Linked DNA regions of Homo sapiens: region 2 is linked to region 1. Evidence: promoter capture Hi-C in human tissues and cell types (Jung and others, 2019). All regions are on one chromosome and are shown on one strand. The core of a region is centred on a gene start or on the middle of the fragment in contact, and the rest is flanking DNA. Distances in the headings are between cores, read along the strand shown.

Region 1 (3,939 bases), core at 887-3,386:
TCTTGGGTAAATAACAAGAGTGAAATGGCTAGATAATAAGGTAGGTGTATATTTAATTTTTAAAGAATCTGCAAAGTTTTTCCAAAGAGACTGTGCCATTGTACATTTCCATCAGTATTGTATGGGTTCCACTTCTGATACATCTTTGCCTACACTTGATGTTGTCTCTACTTTTAGCTTTTCTAGTAAGTGTGTAATACTGTTTCACTGCGGTTTTAATTTGCATTTCTCTAATGACTAACAATGTTGAGCATCTTTTCAAATATTTAATTGCTTTCCATATATCTTCTTTGGTGAAGTATCTGTTCAAATCTTTTGCCTATTTTTAAAAATTGGTTTATTTTCTTATGAGTGAGTTTTGAGAGTCCTTTATATATTTTGGAAACAAGTCTTTTATCAAATATTTTTGGTATTTTCTCCCAGTCTGTGGCTTGTCTTTTCATTCTCTAAAAGTATCTTCTGAAAAGCAGAAGATTTAACTTTGATTAAGTCCAATTTATCATGTTTTTTTCCACTGGCTAATACTGTTTAGAATTTGTGGTGTATATGTATGTACGTTTATGTGCACCCACTCATGGTAAATGTTCATTTTAATAGGTTTAGCGAAGGGACAGTATGCACATGTATGTCCTTGTCATGCCATTGTTTCTGGAAATCTAATTATTTAAAACAAGTGCTGTGCATAAACTTTAAAGTGAAAATACTATAGATTTTATAAAATGAACTGTTTCTGTGACAGTTAAAATCTCTGTGCTAGGTGGCCCCACAATGGCTCCCAATGGTTCTCATATCCTGGCATTCAAACCTTGTGTATCTCTTCCCACACTGAATCATGACTAATCTGAGGAGAATGTATTGAGGAAATCATGATGCATGATTTCCAAAACTAGGTCATAAAAGCTTTGGCCTTGGCCTCTTGGATTGCTCACTTTGGGAGAAAGCTACATGCCATGTTGTGAAAACCCTCACATGGGAAGGAACTGACGCTTCCTGCCAACAACCAGCACCCACTTGACAGCCATGTGAGTAAACCACCTTGGAGGTGGATCCTCCAAACTCAGTCAAGCTTCAGATGACTTCAGCCCCACATGACACCTGACTGCAACCTCAGCAGAGACCCTCAGCCAGTACCACCCAGCCAAGCTGCTCTTGAATTCTGGGTCCACAGAAACTGTCAAAAGATAACAATGTTTATTGTTTTTAGCCACAAAGCATTAGAGTAGTTTATTATCCAGCAGTAGATACATAATATACTCTCCATGGCAGGACTTGTTTTGAAAGTGGTGGATAAATCTAATTCCTGTGGAAGGAATAACTAAAATCTGTTTCCAGGCTGGGCCGGGACACACATCCCAGTACAGGGCAGGAAAGGGCTCTAAGCCAAATGTTAATAGCTCTTTCGCTAAACTTCGAAAATTGTCCTTAAAAAAATCTATTTCCCTAAAGCACGCCACATATTGGAGTCCCAGCAGCACCTATTTTGTGTCTTCAAAAAACACAATTGGAAAACAAAACAATACAAACTCACGAGTACATACTATGTGCCAGGCACAACTGTAAATAATTTACCTATCAATTAACTAATTTAATGAATTAACCCTGAACAGCCTCAAGAGGTTGGTACCACCATCATAATACCCATTTAATAGACAAGGAAACCGGGGCAAAGAAACTTGCTGCAGGTCACACAACTAGCAAGTGGTGCAGCTGGGTTTCTGGACCTACGTAGTCCATACACATTCGGCCTTCTGAGTAATGGGTTCGCCTTTCCCCACACCCACTTTTCCCACTGCAGCGCACCCACACAATCCAGACAGTTTTGGCGCATGTGAAGGGCGCGATGGTCCCTTCATTATCTGGAAGGACACCCAGAGTGGCAAATGCCAGATAACCACGAATAATACCCAGGATAGTAACCATTCTGTGGCCTGAGCTGGCCAGACGTCATGCCCCGAAGGAGCTACCAGGTGTGGGCGCTGCAGGACCCCTGCCTGGGGCCGCCCGCTCGGGCCCGTGTTGTCTCAGGCAGTAGGGACACTGGCGCTGACGGCGGGGGTAGGAAACCACAGAGACTGGCAACTTCCCAGGTTCCTAGAGAGGAGGGGCATGGAAAACGCACTTCCGGCGGAGGGTCTCAAGCTTTCCCCGGTGTCGGCGGCAGGTGGAATTTCCACGCTTTATCTGCGCCTGCGCCGCGCGGGATTCGCGGTCCGAGCTGAAGAGGTTCGCGGTCCGGGTAACTGATTGGTTTTCCTGGGGCTTGTTCTGCCTGGTTTTGCAACCCCTTTGCTTTTTGGGGTGAGGAGTTGGCGGAAAGGAGAGGGGCCCAAGTAGCACAGAGGGCATTTGCGGGGTGCGAGGCAGCATCAATCTCACCGGTGCTTCTTTATTTTCTCTTCAGTTTCACTTCTCCGAACCCTGAGGCAGTGTGTGAAGCTGGGACGCCAGCCATGTTCCAGACCGCTTGGCGCCAGGTGAGTGAGCATCCTCTCCCTCCCTCCCACCCTTTAGATGTCAAGAGAGAGCAGGTGTCACCTCTGCATTCAGATCTTGAGTTGTGTAGGCCAGTGGCTTCCATTGTGCATCTGTCACTATGAGAGGGATGGAGAGGTGAGAATGCCCAAATTAAGACTAGAAAACTAGTGAGTGTGGGGGGATTGGTTGGGATTTGGCATTTGAAGCCAGCTTAAAAATAAAAATTATGAAATGTGGAAATCTGCATTATTACATCCAATAAAGACCCCTTTCACCCTAGTCCGCAGGCTTGGAGAAGTACTTACTTCTTCAGTATAGCAATTCTAGTAACTGTTTTGTAGATTCCATTGTATTTTCTACATAGGTCATCTATGAGTAAAGATAGTTTTACTCCTTTCTTTCCAGTCTGGATGCCTTTTATTTTATTTTGTCTTGCCTTACTGCACTGGCTAGAAGCATTATTTCAATATTGAACAGAAGTGGTGAGAGCAGATATCTTTGTCTTATTTATGCTTTTAAAGTGAAAGCATTCAATCTTTCACACTGAAGACTGATGTTCACTGTAGGTTTCTTGCTTTTTTGTTTTGTTTTGTTTTGTAAATGTCCTTTATCAGGCATTCTCTTCTAGTACTACTTTGGTGAGAGTTTTTATAGGAATGGATGTTGGATTTTGACAATTGCTTTTTCTGTGTCTATTTAGATGACCATATGGTTTTTTTTTTTTTTTTTTTTTGAGATGGAGTCTTGCTCTATCGACAGGCTGGAGTGCAGTGGCGCGATCCTGGTTCACTGCACCCTCCACCTCTGGGGTTCAAGCGATTCTCCTGCCTCAGCCTCCCGAGTAGCTGGGACTACAAGCACGCGCCACCACACCCAGCTAATTTTTGTATTTTTAGTAGAGACCAGGTTTCACCATGTTGGCCAGGATGGTCTCGATCCCTTGACCTCGTGATTCCCCCACCTTGGCTTCCCAAAGTGCTGGGATTACAGGCGTGAGCCACCGTGCCCAGCCTCTCTTTGTTAATGTGGTGAATTACATGATTTTTCTTTCAAATATTAAACCAACTCTGCGGTGGGATAAAACCGACTTCGTCATGGTGTATTATTATTTTATTAGTACTATATATTGAATTTAATTTGTTAAAATTTTATTTAGAATTTCTGTATCTATGTTTATGAGGTATTGATTTGCAGTTTTCTTTTCTTGTGATGTCTTTGTTCCATAGAATGAGAAATATTCCCTCCTCTTTAATATTTTGGAAGAATTTATGTAGAGTTGACTGCATTTCTTCCTTAAATGTTTGGTAGAATTCAACAGTGAAGCTATCTAGGCATGGGGTTTTCTTTCTGATAAGGTTTTTAAGTACAGTTTTGAGTCCTTTGGTAGATACAGGGGCTACTCTGGTTATCTCTTTTTATTTATTTATTTTTATTTTTTGACAACGGTTTTCTCTATGTTGCCCA
Region 2 (3,528 bases), core at 506-3,005, 210 kb before region 1:
GTACAATAACAAATTTACACCACCGGTAGATAAAAAATTTGTGCATGTGTGTGTGCACATGGACACACACACACACACACACCACTGGTGGATAAAGGGTCATCACTCTAAAAAAGTTAATTTTTTTCCTAAGTATCAGATATATTCATAATTCAAGGTTTAATTTCATGATAGATGCCAAAGAGAAATTTATTCTTACATTCAAAATACATGTATTGAAACTTTGCTTTCAACTTAGATGAAGTAACAAGGACTGAATTTACTCTTCCACCTAAAACAACCAAATCACAGGACAAAATATAAGAAACAACAGTTTTTCAAAACACTCCACATCAAACAAAGGACAGTGATTCCTGAGGGATGGGAAACAAATAAGGTGAGCCCTGCAATTGGCCCATCTTTCTGCCTTGAAAGAGTGTCCCAGGCCGGAGCACAGAAAAGGTGTCTTAGTCTGTTTTGTGTTACTATAACAGAATACCACAAACTGGGTAATTTATTTTATAAAGGAACTCATTTCTCACAGTTCTGGATGCTGGCAAGTCCACAGTGAAGGGCTTGCATATGGTGAAGACTTTTTTGCTGCATCATCCCACAGTAGAAGGCAGAAGGGCAGGACAGAATGCATACGGACTTTTTAACGATAAATTCTGTCTTTAAATCGTCTCTTTCCTGTCTTATTTTACTGTAAGAAGTTAAAAGTAGCCATGCACAGCATGGAGGACTTGCTGTTTAGATATTTCTTTCACCAGATATCCTAGTCCATCACTCTTAACTTTCACCCTTCATAAAGCCTCTGGGCACGGACACTGTTCAGCCCAGTTATTTGCTACTTTATAACAAGGGTGGCCTTTGCTCTAGTTTCCAATACCTTGTTCTTCAGTTCCATCTGAAACCTCATCAGAATGGCCTTTACTGTCCATATTTCTTTCATTATGCTGGTCACAACCACCTAAATAATCTCTAATAAGTTCCAGACTTTCTCTCGTCTTCTCTGTTTTTGAGCCCTCACCAGGATTGCCCTTAATGCACCATTCACAGCAATCCAAGCTTTTTCTACCTTGCTACACCAAATTCTTCCAGCCTCTATCCATTATCCAGTTCCTAAGCCACTTCCACATTTGTGGGTATTTCTCATAGCAACAGCCCTACTTCTCAGTACCAATTTTCTGTCTTAGTCCATATTATGTTGCTATAACTGAATACCACAGATTAAGCAATTTCTAAAGAAAAGAAATTCATTTCTCACAGTTCCGGAAACTGGGAAGTCCAAGGTCAAGAAGAGTGCATCTGGTGAGGGCCTTCTTGCTGAGTCATTCCATGGCAGAAAGCAGAAGAGCAAGAGAGCACACAGGGGAAGGGAGCAAAACTCATCCTTTTATCAGGAACTTGCTCCTGCAATAACTAACCCACTCCCATAACAACAACATTAATTCTTTCATGAGGGCAGAGCTAATGCCCTAATCATGACCTAATCATCCTCATGACCTAATCATCCCTTGAAAGTCCCAACTCTCAATATTGTTACATTGGAGATTAAGCTTCTAACACACAAACTTTAGGGAACACGTTCTAGTCACAGCAGAGAGGGAACACAGGCAGACCCCCAGCAGACTCCATAAGTAGAAAAAGTGGAGTGCAAAAATATTAGGGCAGCTAGAGTTTGCAAGCAGAATATTAGAGAGGAGAGGGCTTCACAGAGAGGGAACGCTGGAAAGTTCTTTAGTCCTCCCCATGTATTCAGCAGAATACTAATGTAAGGAATTGTAAGGAAACTGTGAAGCCTAGGAAATAAACACCTAAAAGACGAAGGGGAATCAGTATGCAATATGCACACAGTCTGGGAATAGTACCTCTGTATACCTCACACTGGTCCTGCTTCTCTAGTCGAACACATACATACATATATAAAGAAACTTGTTACAGGGAATTGGCTTATGTGGTTATTAGAGTTGGTTAAGCAGCTTCTGTAAGGCTGTGTCTCTGCATCTGATATAGAGTCCATAGGGAAAGCAGTCAGTAAGGGAATGTCAGGAAAAGACTATCACAAGCAAGCTGAAACCCTGTAATCGTGAGCTAGTACTCCATGAGGATAGACTGAAATCCATGTCTTTTTTTGTTGCCTCTGACCTTAGTGGAATGGTAATTTTTTTTTTCTTTTTTCTTTTTTTTGTTTTTTTGAGACAGGCTCTGGTTCTGTCAACCAGGCTAGAGCACAGTGGCACTTATCTCGGCTCAGTGCAACCTCCACCTCCCAGACTCAAGACATCCTCCCACCTCAGCCTCCTGAGTAGCTGGGAATAGTGGCTCATGCCACCATGCCTGGATAATTTTTTGTATTTTTTATAGATCGGGGTTTCACCATGTTGCCCATCCTGGTATCAAACTCCTGAGCTCAAGTGGTCTGCCTGCCACAGCCTCCCAAAGTGCTGAGATTACAGGTGTGAGCCACCACGCCTGGCCAGGGCTCTTTTTTATGGAACTAAAAACACATACCTGGCTCATGAGTAAGGAAAAGGTGAAGAAAAATCCAGGGAAGATAGCGCAGTTGTAGGCTCAGACACTGGTCATGTCATTGAGGTAAGTCAGCTACAAAAGTGCTTCTTTCCTTCCGGTTTCCAAATCATGAAAGATTAGTTCTTGTGATCCACCCAATCTGTAAATACACAAGAAAGGAAAGTCTGTGAAATGTAGTTCAGCCTAGCCAAGTTTTTATATTATAAAGCCATCATATAGAGAGAGAAAAAAGAAAAAAAATAAGAGTATCAGTGAACTATGAACAACTTTAATTAGCCTTAAATATGTGCAACTGGAGTTTCCAAAGTAGAGGAGAGAAGAGTGGGACAGAAAAATTCTAAGGAATAATGGAGAAAAATTTTTAAAATTTGATGAAAATTATAACTGAGATCCTAGAAGCTTAATGACCCTTAAACACAGGAAACATAAAATCTCTACACCAAGGCACATAATAATCAAATTGCTCAAATTGTTCAAAACTAGTGATAAAGGCAAAAATCTTAAAAGCAGTCAGAGAAAAAAAAAATTTTACATACAAGGGACCAAAGATACAATGACAGCAGATTTCTCATTGTTTACAGACAATGTAAATAAGAAGACAGTGGAGCCACAACTTTAAAGTTCTGAGAGGAAAAAAAAAATAGGCCAGGCATGAATAGTGCAAGCCTGTAATCCTAACACTTTGGGAGTCCAACAGGGAAGGATCACTTGAGCCTGGAGTTTGAGAGCAGCCTGGGCAACCAACCTAGCAAGCCCCGTCTCTATTAGAAAACAACAACAACAATTGTCAACATAGAATCCTATACCCAACAAAACCAGTCTTTCAAAAATGAAGGTTAAATAAAAATATTTCAGACATGCAAAAACTTTAAGAATTCATCACCTTCAGACCCACACTACAAAAAATAACAAAGGAAGTTCTGCCAGCAGAAAGAAAATAACACCAGATAAAAAATATGGATCTACACAAAAAATGAAAAGCACTAGAAATGGTAACTTTTTGGGTAAATTTTT

Evidence for each region. Contacts are between HindIII fragments. The study calls those that stand out against the background at their distance.
Region 2: a fragment that was not itself captured here is called in contact with the fragment with the promoter of ZNF620 in region 1 in 1 of the 25 tissues and cell types used here (aorta).

Annotation. Positions count from the first base shown.
Region 1 is chr3:40,503,903-40,507,841 of GRCh38, forward strand. ZNF620 (zinc finger protein 620) reads left to right here and starts at 2,137. Exons shown (of 5, transcript NM_175888.4): 1 at 2,137-2,236; 2 at 2,402-2,474. The coding sequence starts at 2,451. The HindIII fragment of the contact is 12,099 bases long and covers 1-3,939 here.
Region 2 is chr3:40,298,744-40,302,271 of GRCh38, forward strand. EIF1B-AS1 (EIF1B antisense RNA 1) reads right to left here. Exons shown (of 3, transcript NR_033965.1): 2 at 2,494-2,653. Among named protein-coding and RNA genes, the nearest start is that of EIF1B-AS1, 9.2 kb to the right of the region's middle. RefSeq lists an enhancer at 1,982-3,181. The HindIII fragment of the contact is 3,202 bases long and covers 155-3,356 here.